Regions from separate parts of the Homo sapiens genome. Here region 1 is linked to region 2. Evidence: promoter capture Hi-C in human tissues and cell types (Jung and others, 2019). All regions are on one chromosome and are shown on one strand. Each heading gives the region's core, a stretch centred on a gene start or on the middle of the fragment in contact. The rest is flanking DNA. Distances are from core to core; before and after follow the strand shown. Region 1 overlaps KMT2A (lysine methyltransferase 2A). Region 2 holds the start of MPZL3 (myelin protein zero like 3).

Region 1 (5,029 bases), core at 431-2,930, 270 kb before region 2:
AAACATGTTTAAAAACTCCTTTTTTTTACAACTATGTACACTTTTTACTTTTACATTCAGTCTTTCGTAGAGAGCTTTCAGCATTATTATTTTTTGAACTATTAAAGTATTTTCCTTCATCCCTGTCACAGGGAGTTAACACTGATGGACTTTAGACACATTTTCCTTTTTTTTTTTTCTCTTTTTCTCTAACCAGAAGCTTGGAAGAACACAAGGAAAAAAAACAGATCTGTTATACATGATAAAGTTGTCAAAAAATGTCTTATTTCTAGAAAAGAAGCTTGTCATCTGTTGAGCTCTTGAAACAATTATTCAACTACCTGTATTTACTAAAGAGACTGTTAAAAGTTCAATAAAAGAAACACCACAATTCTATTTTCTTGGTTGAAAGACAGAACTAGAGTACCTCGGAACAAGATACCAGGAAAGCACAGAACACAATTTTCCCCTAAATGCAGGTGGTAACCCCAACATTCATAACCAAAAATAGAGAAACAAGGAGGACAGGTACTGACTGGCAACATTCATGGGCAGAAAAAAATCCAGGTGACACCATGTCTGCATTTTTCTCTGATCCGAGGAATGGACTGTTCTACCATTCCTTTATGGTTAGAGGTTCCCCCCATTTCGGGAATCAGAGGAAAGTGAGCCTGACATCTTCCTGCCGCTACTAGCAACTGTAACACAATCCTTATCTATAGTGTTAAGAGAATTAAAAGCCATGGACTGAACTAGGCTTTGTTACATGGTGCATTACTATATTAGTTCCTATATATATCATATTTATATTTATTTGAAAACCAAAACAAACAAAAAGTTGCAAGTTTCCAGAGTGTGTGACTTGACTAGTATTCATGATTCGGCACAAAACCATCTGCTCCATAACCTTGTATTGCTTTAAAATGAAGGAAATGAAACATAAAATTACACCCAGCCCTTTGCAATGACCCGCTTTTCCTTAAAAACAAAAACAACTTGATTTCTATTAAAAAAAAAAAATCCCAAACCGAACTTAGAAGTTAACATCTGACAAGGTTTTGACCTTTAGTATTTTCAGATATTTGATTGAACGTCAGTCCTTTAGAAAGATACATTCATTAGAATATTTTTTTTATTTTTGTGTGTGTGTTGTATTTTTTTTTCCTTTTTTTTTTATTTTTTATTTTTTTTAAATCAAGGGAGCTACATGGTGCTCACTGCATTGGCCGGGGGTTTGACGGAGGCGAGCAGGGTGGCGGGCTGGGTCCCGGCAAAGGAGTCTGGTTGAAAACGTATAGCTGCCAGGGCTTCCCCCTTAATTCTTGTTATTGGTGTAAAAACAGAGGGGCTGTGCGAGAGGTGGTGGGTGGCCAAGGAGGGAGCCAAGAGACCAAGTTCCGGCCAAAGGGTCAGCGCCATGCAGCTATTCTGGTTACACAGTTGTCACTGGCCACCAGGAAATGCAGCCACAACAGGTTCTAGCAGCAAAGCTATAAGTGAGCTGGCTCTCACTGAGAACTGACCAGGTTTGCAGCTGTTACTCCTCAGGGATTTGGGATGCCCCTTGGGGGATTCTTGGGAATGACCCATCACAATTCCTCAATCTGCACTTTTGTGCGGAGATTCCCTTGGTCACTTTTGAAATGAACTCAGATGTGTTTGGAGATAGCTGTGCCGTTTTTGCCTTCTTTCCCTCTTGTAGGGAAACCTTCGCTTATTCCCCCAAGTTGCTGGCAGGTGTGCTGAAAATTTGGCAATGGACTCAAGGCTGAGCTAGAAGAGGAATTTCTCATTTTTGTGGTTGACAATTAGGGGGTGGAAAGGCAAGGCAAACCATCTGCAGCTGGCAGGAGAAGGAAGCTGTGGGTTCCTCCCCTGTCCTCAGGGTTTAGGGTTGGTAGAGAGTGAGGAGGGGCTCACAGTACAGCATGGCCTAGCAGGGCAGTAACTAGGTCTATTTAGCTGAGTTCCCCCCACCCCCTGACTGGCCTTTGGGTCTTTCTCAAGGTGAATTCAGGACCCATCAGTGCATTAATCATTTCAGTAACAAATGCAGCTTAAGGTTTTTTTTTTTTCTTTAAAAAAAATAGGAATACAAGGATTTACAAAAAAACCTCACACAGTGCAATAATAAAGGAAAGCAGACACTAGTGGAACCCCTAGGGCCACTGCATCTTGTTCATGGGCAAAAGGAGGAAGGGAGGTGAGGTCTGGGTAGAGTGCTTTTCCCAGTCCCCTGCTGGCACTTCTCCATGATGACAAGGAAGTCTCTGCCATCCTGGCCACAGTGCTGGGCTCCCTGCATGACAGTGAAAACAGTGACAATGTTCCAGCAAAGCCACCAGACAAAGTTCTTAAGGTCACAGGAGAGAAGGGAGCCCAGGATGGAAGGCACAGCAGAGCCATGAGTCCTGGGGCAGAGAGTGCTGGGCTGAGTCGTATTGCTTTGCTAGACTTCCATAGGAATGGGCTTCTTGCGGCGAGAAAAGGGTGCCCCACCCTCTACTTGGACTACACTACTCTGAAACCTTGTGGCAGAGGCAGAGAAAAATCTGCTTTATCGTGAGTGGTCAGACTGTGCTTCAGTTTCAACAGGCTGCCCCAAAAGAGGGCACAAGGTGATCAATGGGTTCTCTGCAGATATGAGGACTTGGTGGGCAGAGGGAAAGGAAAGAGTGGCCTATGAGGCAGATGGTGATGCAAAAATGTCAAGTTGCCATTCAACTTGTTGTTTGCTAACTCTGAAGTAAGAAAGATGAGGGAAATGTAAAGATTGCCGTCTCCCACCACTCTGGAAGTTGCGCCGGAAAGGAGAGAGGCGGGAAAGAAGAGAATCTGTTGTATCAAGATATTACTGTAGCCTTTTGAGGAGCTTCAATAGGGGAAGGAGGGGAGTGGCCCAATGGAGTTGGGTGACCTTCCTTCTCCATTTATTGTCAAAGAGCAAACCCAGGAAACATTTATGTCAACAGGGCACAAACAAGCTACACATTAAACAACAAAAAGTACACCTTCCAGGGGGAAGTTGGGCAGGAAAAACCAGACTTTGTGTGTACAGCTGAATATTTTCTCTAACTTCATCCTATGAAAATAAAAAATTATTAAAAACCGATCTTCTTTTAAATTAGGATAATACCGCGGTTTAAAAAATAGCCTTGTCATAAGTGCTTCTCCCTATGAAGTGCTTCTCATAGAAAAATATACAAAATATATTTACATTTATAAAACCTTAAATAGTAAACTGTAAACAGAACAGAGTAAAATCCAATGACTTAATTTAACAGGTTCAGGACTCTGTCTTGGGGAAAGGAAGAGAAGAAACATTTGATGCTGTTTTGACCACATCCTAAGGAGTAATCAGGGCAGTAGTGTCATTGAATTTACTTTAGCTGTGGGTTGCACGCAGGTGGCAGAGTTCCCTCAACATAAGGTGGTCTAGTCCCCAAGTTGTGGGCCTTGAAATCTGATTAGTGTTCTGCCTTCAACTGGACACTGACCGTTTAAAAATTAAGTCTTCCTATGTCTTAACAAGGGGAAAATAAAGTAACCATGTCTTAGGAATGGGACCCAAGGGTCATCCTGGCTGTGATACTCTCGTTGTTGCATGATTTAAATCCTATTTAAATAATCTTTTTCCTCTCCTACAAAATCATGCTACATATGTTTCTTTAAAACTCTCCATGGAGCTTTATGAAAATGTTTCCAAATTCTGTCTGGTTATGACCAATGGCTCCTGTCCACTTCCCCACCTGGAGTGCTTACAGGCTCAGGGAACTTTTTGCAGGCACATCCTATGCCCAGCAGGGAGTGTCCTTGAGCAGGCAGTCAGTCTCCCCTACAACCCGAAAGAAGCATGGGAAAGCAGTGGCATGAAGACAGGGGAAAGGAAGAAAAGGGAGTGAAGAGGGAATGGGAGAGGGAAGCCGCTCCTACTGTCAAGAAAGGTAATTGGCTGAGATAAGGCTCCTGGGGGCAACACTCCCACTCAAAGCCTGCAGGCTCAATGTTTGGTAATTAATTGGCACAACCCCATGACAGCCTTTTGACACCGGAGGTGCTAGGAATCCTGTCTCCCAACCAGAAGTGAACTCTCGAGTGGGAGGATAGTAGGGAAAACCACCAGACCTCTGTTTGTTCGACAGACGCTGTAGGTGGGGCCTGGCTGGCAAACTGTCAGGAATCTAACCAACCCTCCATTTGGGGCTTTGCCTGACCCACTCACTTACAGTGCTTGGGAAAGGGCCAACCTGAGGATGGCAACTTATTTCTGTGGAGAAATTCAGGCCCAATCTCCCAACATAACCAACCCTCTATAATAGGCTCCTTCCAGGCAAGTCTGCTAGGGACCCCATTCCCACTTTCTAACAGTAAACAATTGGAGGGGCCCCAGGAGAAAGCCGATCATGGATCTTTTCTTCGAGACCTCAACTCTGTCTCTGGGACTATGATCACATGTCTGATGTGAGTATAGGACATAAGAGAGCTCAGCCATCACAGAGGCCCCTCAGCTGTGCCACGCAATCCGGGAGCTCCCAGCTGCTGGAAAAGGCCTTCAGCGTTGCTTTGGATGGCCCCGCCTCCTTGCACTCCAACACTGGGGGAGAAGAGCAGCTTTAGTTTAGGAACTTCCGGCATTTCTTGGCGCCACAGTTGCAGGGCAGCTTGTTGCTGGCATCCTCAATGGGGAACTTATAGTCGTAAGTGAGTTCCTCTCCTCGGTAGATCTTACGCATGGCAAAGATGACAATGTGCTTCTGCCCATCAATATTGATGACCCGAGAATAGCAGTTAGGCTCACACGAGTGATTGATGAAGCGTGCAGCATTTCCATGCATGGTGGCATCCACTACCTCTGAGTCATCAATTCGGAACATATAGCAACCAATGCCCTGCACATGCAGAAGAAGGGAGAAGAACTTGTCATTTCTTATAAACTCAGCTTTAAGAACATGTCCCAATCTTCTCTTGATGTTACCTATAGCGGCTGAGAAAGTTTCTTCTAGTAAAATTTCCAGATTTCTCCCAGTACTATCTTTCAAGATGCTTCCAC
Region 2 (2,569 bases), core at 70-2,569:
TTTGAAAATATTATAACTGGATATTTCTTCAAACAGATGTCCTGGATGATGGTCCATAAGAATAATGAAGAAGTAGTTAAAAATGTATGGACAGTTTTTCCGGCAAAATTTGTAGCTTATGTCTTGGCTAAATAGTCAAGGGGTAATATGGGCCTGTTGTTTAGTGTCTCCTTCCTAAAGAGCACTTTTGTATTGTAATTTATTTTTTATTATGCTTTAAACACTATGTAAATAAACCTTTAGTAATAAAGAATTATCAGTTATATAATTTGTGTATATACATATCTAGAAGTTCTACATTGCAGGAAAAACAGATGGATATATATTTAATCTTTACCAAAAAGTTTTCTTAGTAGAGACAACCTGCAAGTCAATAATGGATACAGTTAGTTTCTAATGGGTAAACAGAAGTATACGGATTTCCACAGAATTTTCACACTGTTTTGGATAGCTGGGAATTGGGCATAACAACACTACTTAGTTTGAGGGCTCTTTCAAAGAAAAGTATCAAAGATTCTATTTAGTACTTTGCATTACACTTTTAATAGGGAAAACTACTGGCTTTCAAGTCTAGTAAAGGAATGGAAATTGAAAAATGGAAACTTATTAATTCTTCCCCAAAGCGAAAGCATACTTTTATTCTCCTCCTGCTTTCATTGACATGTGGCAATTTCCAGGGAAGAGGCTTACTGATTATTAAAGCAGTGTACTTATTGTACCATCTCTTTTTCAGAAGTATGTGACGCCATCTCACTTCAAGTACTGTGATAACATAACTTTCTTACTTTTCCAACCAAAGACACAGAAATCCCAGTTCCTCTTTTCCTCTAATACAGGCTGTAATGATTTGATCATCATTGCCACCGCCAAAAGTAATTTAATAAACACCCAATTTTGGAGGCTGCAATACTTACACTAAAAAGGACACCAACCAATGAGGCTTGTGGCACATATCACTACAAGCACCTAATATATATTTATCTATACTGTATGATCTCCCAGGTGTTTCTGAACTCTAAATTTACAGTAGTGTATTCTGAGAACCTTCAACTAAATCTCGAGACGTAAAAACGATGTCTGACATGCAGTCAGAGCATCAAAATTATTTAGTTCTGCAGAATTCCATAAAAACAAAATTGTAATTATTCCAAGTCCGTAGCCTACTTCATTTTCAAGCAAAAGAGAGCATTTAGCTCCCGCCTGAAAGTTAATAAATCTCTGGTCAGTGAAACCAGGTGTGGTTCTGGAAAGAAGCCAGGTTCCTATGGTAACTTCGGATCGCCATTTAAGTTGTCTCTCGGCCTCCTGCTCTGACGTCACTTCCGGTGTTACCTGTGTCGTTACCGGGAGCTGTAAACAAGGTGTGCAAGCATCTGAAGAGCTGCCGGGATGCAGCAGAGAGGAGCAGCTGGAAGCCGTGGCTGCGCTCTCTTCCCTCTGCTGGGCGTCCTGTTCTTCCAGGGTGAGTGCTCCGGCTGGCTACGCTCCACTTCCGGCCGGGGGGTTAGGGAAGATGGTCGCTTTTCCGGTTCCGGGTAGGGGGGTCTCCAGAAAGCCCCCGCATAGCTCTGGGAAGGAAGGAGGGAGGGAGCGGGACGTTGGGACGATGTCATCACCACCCCGTTGAGGATAGTTGGTATTTTGTCAGTCCTTTCCTGAGCTTTGGGAGCTTTTTCACCTTGCGTGACCTGTCATTGTAGTTTGGTGATAGCATACTTGATGGAACCACAAAGAGCTCTGGCTTTGGGGGCACCCGGTGTTATTTTGTGGTGTTATTATCAGTGGTTGACCGCTGTCGTTTGGGCGCTGTATACCCTGATTAGAAAGAAAACAGTTCTAGCATTCAGTAGTTTGCCCCAGTAGTTTTGGGAAACAAAATCATGACAGTTGGTAATTTTATTTTTTGTAGGTGATTATTGTAGTCTATAAAATGAAATATTTGCTAGTCACAGAAGGGATGTGATGTGATTCGTTATAGAGAAGCATATCGATGAAAAAGTAACTGCTTTAGCATTTTCATAACTTTTTTTAATACAAGAAAGAGCATATAAATTCTGTTAAAATTTATTAAGTAATATCAGAAGTAGGGTATTCACACTGACATTCACATCTTAAAATTAGGTGAGTTTTGCTTTCATATAATTTTCAAATTGCATAAATTTCAATCCAGCCTAATTACCTTCATCTTAAGGTACAATTATTTCCTGGATTTTGTGTATGTGTGTCTTCCTGGGAAATAAAATATTAGTATATCTAGTATTAGAGTGAATTGCTAAATTTATAAAATTTCCTTGAGGGTAATGGGGATTTCTGAAAGAGATATTTAATATTATATAAATATAAATAGTTTAATATAAAGACTTCAGATGTCCTAAATCTTAGCAGTTAAGGCTGGAAAGTTTTTAACTGGTGACTAATATTCATGTTGCCAGCACACCCCCGATCCCTCCCAGCTGCCTGTGTCATCATAAGTCTCCAGTTTTTAAGCTAAATTACTTTGCAGTATGATATTTAGGCTGGCCTACTGTCACTCCTAATAAACCCAGTCCTCTCTCTCTCTCTTTCACAC

What was found. Contacts are between HindIII fragments. The study calls those that stand out against the background at their distance.
Region 1: a fragment that was not itself captured here is called in contact with the fragment with the promoter of MPZL3 in region 2 in 1 of the 25 tissues and cell types used here (hippocampus).

The regions. Positions count from the first base shown.
Region 1 is chr11:118,521,736-118,526,764 of GRCh38, reverse strand. KMT2A (lysine methyltransferase 2A) reads right to left here. Exons shown (of 36, transcript NM_001197104.2): 36 at 1-4,868. The coding sequence ends at 4,593. All of the region lies in intron 1 of TTC36-AS1 (TTC36 and KMT2A antisense RNA 1), which reads left to right. Among named protein-coding and RNA genes, the nearest start is that of TTC36, 3.2 kb to the left of the region's middle. The HindIII fragment of the contact is 4,547 bases long and covers 1-3,953 here.
Region 2 is chr11:118,251,115-118,253,683 of GRCh38, reverse strand. It overlaps MPZL3 (myelin protein zero like 3), which reads left to right and starts at 1,319. Exons shown (of 6, transcript NM_198275.3): 1 at 1,319-1,462. The coding sequence starts at 1,390. It overlaps MPZL2 (myelin protein zero like 2), which reads left to right. Exons shown (of 6, transcript NM_005797.4): 6 at 1-268. RefSeq lists enhancers at 877-1,437, 1,787-1,836, 1,438-1,999. The HindIII fragment of the contact is 7,018 bases long and covers 1-2,569 here.